Regions from separate parts of the Homo sapiens genome. Here region 1 is linked to region 2. Evidence: promoter capture Hi-C in 16 types of primary human blood cells and fetal thymus (Javierre and others, 2016). All regions are on one chromosome and are shown on one strand. The core of a region is centred on a gene start or on the middle of the fragment in contact, and the rest is flanking DNA. Distances in the headings are between cores, read along the strand shown.

Evidence for each region. Contacts are between HindIII fragments. The CHiCAGO score rates a contact against its expected background, and 5 or more counts as called.
Region 1: a fragment that was not itself captured here is called in contact with the fragment with the promoter of KRABD5 in region 2 in 1 of 17 cell types (neutrophils); the score reaches 5.2 in neutrophils.

What each region holds. Positions count from the first base shown.
Region 1 is chr16:31,667,755-31,672,028 of GRCh38, forward strand. No RefSeq gene overlaps it. Among named protein-coding and RNA genes, the nearest start is that of KRABD5, 43 kb to the right of the region's middle. The HindIII fragment of the contact is 1,104 bases long and covers 708-1,811 here.
Region 2 is chr16:31,710,948-31,715,201 of GRCh38, forward strand. KRABD5 (KRAB domain containing 5) reads left to right here and starts at 2,297. Exons shown (of 5, transcript NM_001130913.2): 1 at 2,297-2,488. The coding sequence starts at 2,486. RefSeq lists enhancers at 2,464-2,583, 3,708-3,757 and a silencer at 2,674-2,733. The HindIII fragment of the contact is 15,701 bases long and covers 1-4,254 here.

The sequences.
Region 1 (4,274 bases), core at 10-2,509, 44 kb before region 2:
TGCAGAACAAAAAAGAGAGACATGTTGGCAGAAGATCTGAGGCAGGGCTCGCTTGTCTGACATAATGTAAACGAGTCTTGGAACATGTCCTGGGTCCAGGGTCTAAAACCCCTTGTGGCCTATGGAACACCAAGCTCTGTGCCAAAGGGTGGAAGGCTGCCCTGCCACACTACAATCTAAGCCCAGGGCATAACACCCCTTGTGGCTTGGAGAGAACCCAGGGCTCAGGGCGTAAAACCCCTTGTAGCCTCTGGAATGTGTCCAGACTCGCTGACCCCTTGCTCCTTGATCTCCCAAGATCATAAATTGATTATATCTTGCATCAAAAGAACCTGTTCTCCCTTATTTCAAGTAGCAGAGCATATGCTAAAGCATCACAGTTACGCTTGATGCACTGTTACCTTTCTACCCCCACGTCCTCACGTCCTCACCTGTCTACATCTGCACATCCTCACCACCTGCTTCTTTGTTTGATTACCAATAAATAGTCCCAGAGCTCGGGGCCTTCACTGCCTCCATATGCTAGCATTGGCCCCCTGGACCCACCCTATGTACTCTTAATTTGTTTTGTCTCATTCCTTTGACTCCACCGGACTTCATAGCCCCCATGACCTGGTGTTGGGTTTGATCACCTCAACACCGAGTTTGCAAATATTTTTCCCCATTCCATAGATTGTGCATTAATGCTGTTTCTTGTGCGGTGCAGAAGCTTGTTAGTTTAATTAGGTCCCACTTGTCAATTAGGTCCCGCTTGTCAATTTTTGTTTTTGTTGCAATTGTTTTTGGGGTCTCTGTCATGAAAAGCCTATGTCCAGAATGGTATTTCCTAGGCTTTCTTTTAGGGTTTTTATAGCTTTTGGTTTTATGTTTAAGTCTTTAATCCACCCTGAGTTGATTTTTGTATATGGTGAAATGAAGGGGTTCCATTTCAATCTCATGCCTATAGCTAGCCAATTATCCCAGCACCACTTATTGAATAAGTACTTTTTTCCCCATTGCTTCTAATTGTCAACTCTGTTGAATATCAGATGGTTGTAGGTGTGTGGTTTTATTTTTGGGTTCTCTAACCTGTGTTATTGATCTATGTGTTTGTTTTTATACCAGTACCGTGCTGTTTTGGGTACTGTAGCCTTGTAGTATAGATTGAAGTCAGATAATGTGATGCCTCTCTGTTCTTTTTACTTAGGATTGCTTTGGGTATTTGGGCTTTTTTTTTGTTCCATATGAATTTTAGAATGCTTTTTTCCAATTCTGTAAAAACTGACAGCAGTAGTTTGACAGGAATAGCATTGAATCTGTAAATTCCTTTGGGCAGCATGGCCATTTTGACAATATTGATTCTTCCTATCCGTGAGCGTGGAATGTTTTTCCATTTGTTTGTGCCATCTCTGATTTTTTTCCAGCAGTTTTGTTATTCATGTTGCAGAGATATTTCACCTCCCTGTTTCACTGTATTCCTAGGTAATTTTTCTTTTTTGTGGCTATTGTGAATGGCATTGCATTCTTGATTGGGCTCTCTGCTTGGACGTTATTAGTGTATAGAAATTCTAGTAATTTTTGTACATTGATTTTGTATCCTGAAATTTTACTGAAGTTGTTTATCAATTCTATGAGCATTTGGGCAGAGAATATGAGGTTTTCTAGGTATAGAATCATATCATCAGCAGAAAGAGATACTTTGACTTTCTCTTCCCATTTGGATGCCTTTTATTTCCTTCTCATGCCTAATTGCTCTGGCTGGGACTTCAAGTACTTTTAAATAACAGTGGTGAATGGGCAGCCTGGCTCTGGTTCTCAAGGGGAGTTGGTCAAGCTTTTGCCCCTTCAGTATGATGTTGGCCGTGGGTTTGTCATAGATGACTCATTATTTTGAAATATGTTCCTTCAATGCCTAGTTTGTTGATGGTATTTAACATGAGGAGATATTAAAAGGCTTTTCTGTATCTATTGAGATGATCATGTGGTTTTGTTTTTAGTTCGGTTTATGTGAAGAATCATATTTGTTGATATGCATATGTTGAATCAACCTTGCATCTGAGGAATGAAACTTGCCCGATCATGGATAATTTACTTTTTGATCTGCTGCTGGATTTCATTTACTAGTATTTTATGAATATTTTACATCTATGTTCATCAGGGATATTGGCCTGAAGTTTTTTTGTAATTTTTGATTATGCCTCCACCGGGTTTTGGTGTCATGATGTTGCTGGCCTCATAGAATGAGTTAAGGATGAATCGTTCCTCCTCAAATTTTTGGAATTGTTTTAGTAGGATTGGTACCAGCTCTTCTTTATATGCTTGGTAGAATTTGGCTGTGAATTTGTCTGGTCCAGGGCTTTTCCTGGTTGGTAGGTTTTCTATTACTGATTCCCTTTTGGAAGTTATTATTGGTCTGTTCAGGTATTCAACATTTTCCTGGTTCAATCTCAGGAGGTTGTATGTTTCCAGGAATTTATCCATTTCTTCTGTTTTCTGGTTTGTGTGCATTCATAGTAGTCTCTGAGGGTTTTTTAAAAATATTTTTGTGAAGTTAATGGCAATGTTACCATTGTTATACTAATTGTGTTTGTTTGGATTTTTTCTTTTTGTTTATTAGTCTAGCTAGTGCTCCCTCAATATTATTTATTCTTTTAATGAACCAATTTTTTGTTTCATTGATTTTTTGTATGGATTTTCACATCTCAATTTCATTCAGTTTATCTCTGATTTTGGTTATTTCTTTTCTTTTGCTAGCTCTGGGGTTGGGTTACTCTTGTTTTTTAGTTCTTCCAGATGTGATGTTAGGTTGTGAATTTGAGAGCTTTCTGACTTTTTGATGTAAGGATTTAGTGTTATAAACTTTCCTCTTAACAGCACTTTACGTGTGTCCCAGTTTTCATTTGTTTCAAATAATTTCTTGATTTCTGCTTTAATTTCATTTTTTACTGAAAAGTCATTCAGGAGCAGGTAATTTTCATGTAATTGTATGGTTTTGAGAGATCTTCTTGGTATTGATTTCTATTTTATTGCACTGTGGTTGGTATGATTTGGGGTTTTTTGAACTCATTGAGAATTGTTTTATGGGTAAGGGTGTGATCAATCTTTGAGTATGTGCTATGTGCTGATGAGAATAATGTATATTCTGTTGTTGTTGCTGGGTGGAGTGTTCTATAGAGGTCTATTAGGTCCATTTGGTCATGTTTCAAGTCTAGATCCTGAATATCTTTGTTAGTTTTCTGCCTTGATGATCTTTCTAACATTGTCTGCAGGGTGTTGAAGTCTTACAATTATTGTGTGGTTATTTAAGTCTCTTCATACATCTATAAGAACTTGTTTTATGAATCTAGGTTTTCCAGTGTTGGATGTGTGTATATTTAGGATAGTTAAGTCTTCTTGTTTAACTTAATGCTTTATCATTATGTAATGTCCCTGTCTTTTTATTGTTGTTGGTTTAAAGTCTGTTTTGTTTGAAATAAGGACAGCAGCCCTTGCTCTTTTGTTTTCTGTTTGCTTGATAGATCTCTCTCCATCCCTTTACTTTGAGCCTATGGGTATCATTGCATGTGAGGTGGGTCTCTTGAAGACAGCATACAGTTGAGCCTTGCTTTTTTATTCAACTTGCCACTCTGTGCCTTTTGAGTGAGGCATTTAGTCCATCTATGTTCAGGCTTGATATTGATATGTGAGAATTTGAAACTGTCATCATATTGTTAGATGGTTGTTTTATAGACTTGATTGTATAGTTGCTTTATAGTGTCAGTGGACTATGTACTTAAGTGTGCTTTTGTAGTGGCAGGTAAGAGTCTCTAAGTTTCATATTTAGCATTCCTTTAAGAATCTGTTTTTAGGCTGGGTATGGTGGCTCATGCCTGTAATCCCAGCACTTTGGGAGGCCAAGGCGGGCAGATCATGAGGTCAGGAGAATGAGACCATCCTGGCTAACACGGTGAATGCCTACTAAAAATACAAAAAAAATTAGCCAGGTTTGGTGGCAGGTGGCTGTAGTCCCAGCTACTTGGAAGGCTGAGGCAGGAAAATGGTGTGAACCCAGGAAGCAGAGCTTGCAGTGAGCTAAGACTGTGCCACTGCACTCCAGCCTGGGTGACAGAGCGAGACTCTGTCTCAAAAAAAAAAAAAAAAAAAAAAAAAAAAAAAAAAAAAAAAAAAAAAAAAAGAATCCGTTTTCAAAACATTTTTTTTCTGTAGCTTTTGGAGTACAAGTGGTTTCTGGTTACATGAATGAACTATACAATGGTGAATTCTGAGATTTTTAGTGCACCTATCACCCAAGTAGT
Region 2 (4,254 bases), core at 1,047-3,546:
TGTGAATGGCATGTACGGTCCTCAGTTCCCAGCTGAGGGGCCACTCGGGCTCCCCATATTCCCCTCAGCCTCTCCATCTTCCAACAGGGGTGTGGAGTGCATCCATGGCCATGAGTATTGATCTGTCCCAGCCTGTGCATTGCTCCGAGGCAGTTCTGAGTGGATGATGTACAGATGGGATTCCTCAGCTCATTTGCGTGGTTGACGTTATGGCTGCTGGTTTTACTGCCACAACTCCCAGGCCCAACCTGGCTTAATGTCTAAGTTTTAAGCCAAAAAAGATGGGGAGCAGAGCTTTGTGGCAGGGCTGGGGGTTGGGGTCCACTTTAGTTTTGTGGCAGGATGAAGGCTGCAGTGGTTTTATTAATCATGATTGGCCTGGCCGTAGCTCCAGGCTGAGAGGGACAGGTTTGTCAGTGGTGGTCCCCCAGATGTCCCTGTGCCCAGCCCTGGCCTGTCTGCCCTCAGGCCCAGCAGGAGGCGCTACCACAGGCTCTGACTGGCGTCCCTACTCCCTGTACCCCAGATGGACAGAACCTTCGGGTCTACAGTCGGAATATATCATTCTCCCCATTTTAACCTGAGCTGCCTGACACACGGAGGGTGTGCTGGGTAAGGGGCCTAGGGAGCCAGGGTTGAATCATGGATCCTGGGGAAAGGTTGCAGACACAGGAAGGGTTGTCACCTCTCTGTGGAGCCCTGCTGCTTACCACACAGCACCTTCTGCAGAGACTAGCTCTGAGGGTGGCAGGGGACCCCACAGGCCATGGCCACTCCCTCTCTGCACCTGTCCGTGCCTGCTGTGGAAGCCTGGACTGGGGGAGGAGATTGCTACCCTGTGAGCCTGAGGGAGCCACGTCCAGCTGTGACCTCTACCTGGGGCTTTACAGAGAGTTGTTTATGGGTAACAGACACCTTGTTTCAGAGGGAATGGGCATGAGCTGGCAAGTGAAGCACCCCCACAGCTTATCAGGAACTTTTTCTCATTTTTAAACCATCATGTCTTCATTTCACATTGGAATAAAGTGAGGTTTTGGAACCTGCTGCCCCAGTCTCTGGATTGTGAGGGCTGTTGTCAAACAGGTTACTAGGAGAGGAATATGTATAAATTAGCTCAAATTCAAGGTTATGCTTGTAATGTCACCTGAGTGGGAAGTAAGAGGGTGGAGTCACAGGCACTCAGCTGGGATTTACCTGGCCTCGTCACTAGACTAATGGGATTGTGGCACAGGTGAACATCCCGTCATTGGAGAAGAAAGGCTGGATTGAAGGCCAGGTGGGGGAGGGGTGCTAGGCTGTGGGGTCAGGCCCTGGGCATGCTGGACCTGTTAGGTCACTGAACATCTGACTGGGCACCTGCCCAGATTTGTCCCTTCAGTTGAGGTGGGATTGGCAGCACTCCCCAGAAGGCGTGCAGTGCCGGGAGAGTGGAGGAGGGTCTGACGTTTGCTATCCTGTGGTAGGTTTTAGAGCTAACTAGATGCTTGTGGAGAGCTAATGACATGGGAAGAAGGCAGCCCACCTTGATGGACCGGAGGGTTAGAGCCTGCGATGTGAGAAGCGGGTGTGTGGAGGTGGCCTGTCTACAAGAGGGCAAGTTTAAGGCCCATTGCAGTGGCACTATCTCAGCTCACTGCAGCTGGTGGCTGCCAGGCCATCCCTCTCCAGAGCAGGGAGGCCCTCAGCCTTATGTATAATTGAATGCCTTTTGGGATGCTTGGATAGTCCTTTATGTCTTGGAAATTCAGAAAAGAAAAAAAAAATTACAATCCTCCTGTCTGTTAGTTTCCCTGAGCCAACTGGATAAAAGATGTCCCTGACCCCAAGATTTTAAGTGACACCCAAGGGAAGCCACCGTTACCTTGGCTGTTGAAGCCTCCTGCATGCTCCCCAAAAACCCCAGCAGTTTCCTCTGCAGTCCCACAGTTATGTCCTGAGCAGTGGGGTACCGTGTGATGAGAGGTGCTAAGGATGGGATGAGGGTCTTTCCTGTGTTATTAGAACGGTTAAAAAGTTGTTTTAAAGGTGCCCAAATGCCCTCCTTCTTAAACTTAATTAGCTAATAAGATGCCTTATACAAGCAAAACCAGGTACGGGAAAGCAAGTGCATTTCAAGTCCAAGCTCACCCCTTAAATTAGCTGTAATACCCTCAGCAGGTGGCCCCACCTCAATGAGCCTGTCTCCCATTCAAAAAGCAGAACGAGTGAGAGGGCGGGGCCTGGAGCTTTACCCAATCAGTGGCGTCGGAGTGGAAATCCTCCAATCGGGAGTAGCCGGAGAGCAGGGGCGGCTTCCGGGATTTGGCGGTGGCCTTTGTTGGCTGCAGTAAGAGCTCAGTCTCTTCACCAGGGGCTCCCAGTCCTTCCATCTGGGAGGCCAAGGCGGCTTCGCGTTCTGAGAATAGACAGAACCTCTGTTACTCTGTGACCGGCAGGCACCGGGAGATCCGTAGCTCAGACGCCAGGACATCCCGGAAGCTGGGAAATGGTGAATGTGCCAGGTCGGGGGTCCCCAGAAGAGGGAGAGGGGCGGTCGGAAGCGGCGGGAACCCTCTTTGAGGTTAGCTTCGGGGTCTGGGCCCTGAGTCCCCGCGGACGCAACTCGGCCCTTGGTCCCCTCCGCCGCAAGATGGCGGCCGGGCCGGCAGCCGGGACCCCGCGCGTCCGGTCCCCTCCCGACCCCGCAGAGCGACCTCTGCCATGGCCGGAGCCGTCTTTGGGTCGCCGCAGCCCGGCGTCTCCCGAGATTGTGCGGTGAGAACGTGAGGGTCTTAGGGGAAATCCCGGGTCGGCGTGTGATTCGTGTGTGGGAAGATACTGTGCCCCGTGGTGTCCCAGTCTCCTTTTTCCTCTTACAAATTAAGGGGAGTCACCCTTAAAGCGTTAAAGGGTTGATTTAGGTAAACAGCGATTGGTGAAATGGGAAGCCTGCCGCCGTGGTTTGTGGTTTAGGGTCCTCTGGAGCAGCGATTTCAAAATCCCAGGGCTCAGCTTAGGAATGCTGCTGGGGAAAAGAAATAGGGACAATCTCTCTTCCACTTTGGCTGTAGAAAACGAATACATTTCCACAGAAAGTGTGCTAGATTAATTGGTCAATTACAAACATTCATTAAAATATCAGGTCCTCTCTTTTGCAGTGGAGGATTTGTGACAGTGGATATCTGTGTTCCATATTCTACTGCTATCTGGATGTCCGACTTTAATGCCAAATGTTATGAGACAGGACTTGGCACCTCCTAGAAGTGTTCACATATACTAAATGATCTGCTATTATGGAAATAATTAAATGACATGTTTCTTGCTCGAAAGAGGTATTTTGGCCTTACCTGTTGAAGTATAAAGTGTAAGTGCCTTACAGTTTCCTTCCTTTCTATAAAAACTGTTTTGAGTGATTTTGCTATTTTCCTGAAACCTGTTAGGTCACTGAACATCTGACTGGCTGGGCACCTGCTCCTGTCCCTTCAGTTGAGGTAGGATTGGCAGCACTCCCCAGAAGGCGTGCAGTGCCAGGAGAGTGGAGGAAGGTCTGACGTTTGCTATCCTGGGGTAGGTTTTAGAGCTCGCTAGATGCTTGTGGAGAGCTGATGAGATGGGAAGAAGGCACCCCACCTCGATGGACCTGAAAGAGAGAGCCTGCGAATTGAGAAGCGGGTGTGTGGAATAACCCTGACTAGGCATAGAAGACCTCAGTCTTATTTGAGCCTGCAAAAGGAGGTCATTGAAGGCCCAGTTAGTTCTTCCTGGGGAGCGCCCCCTTCAGGTGTCCCTGAGGTTCACAGCAGCCATGGAGGGAGCCCTTTGTTACTGGGAGAAGCTGCAGAGTTCTGGAAAGCAGGGGATTCACAGGCGGATGTGGTCGAGGTTGGGCTGGAAGGGAGATTGGGAAGCTCTTTCTGAGGGTGGAATTGTTAGTGTCCTGGGGCTGTTTCTTGACTTGGTCAAATAAAACATCTGGATATAGGTAAGAAGTGCCTTAATTGTAAAGGAGTATTGCAAGAGGAGGAAAGCACCAACTGTAAGATATTTGTGGATCTCACAGTTGAAGCAGAAAAGGCCTTTCTTTCATAGGGAGGAGCAAACATGATTCAAGGTGGGAGGGGAAGGGCACGACTCCTGGACTAAATCAGATCCCTGATCAGAGAATGTTTCACCCTGAAGTCAGCCTGTTCTTAGGAGGGGCATAAAGAGGGGTTGAATGTTGACTCAGGCTGTGGGTGGGACAAACCTCAGGCACCTTGGAGAAGGGGAGAAATT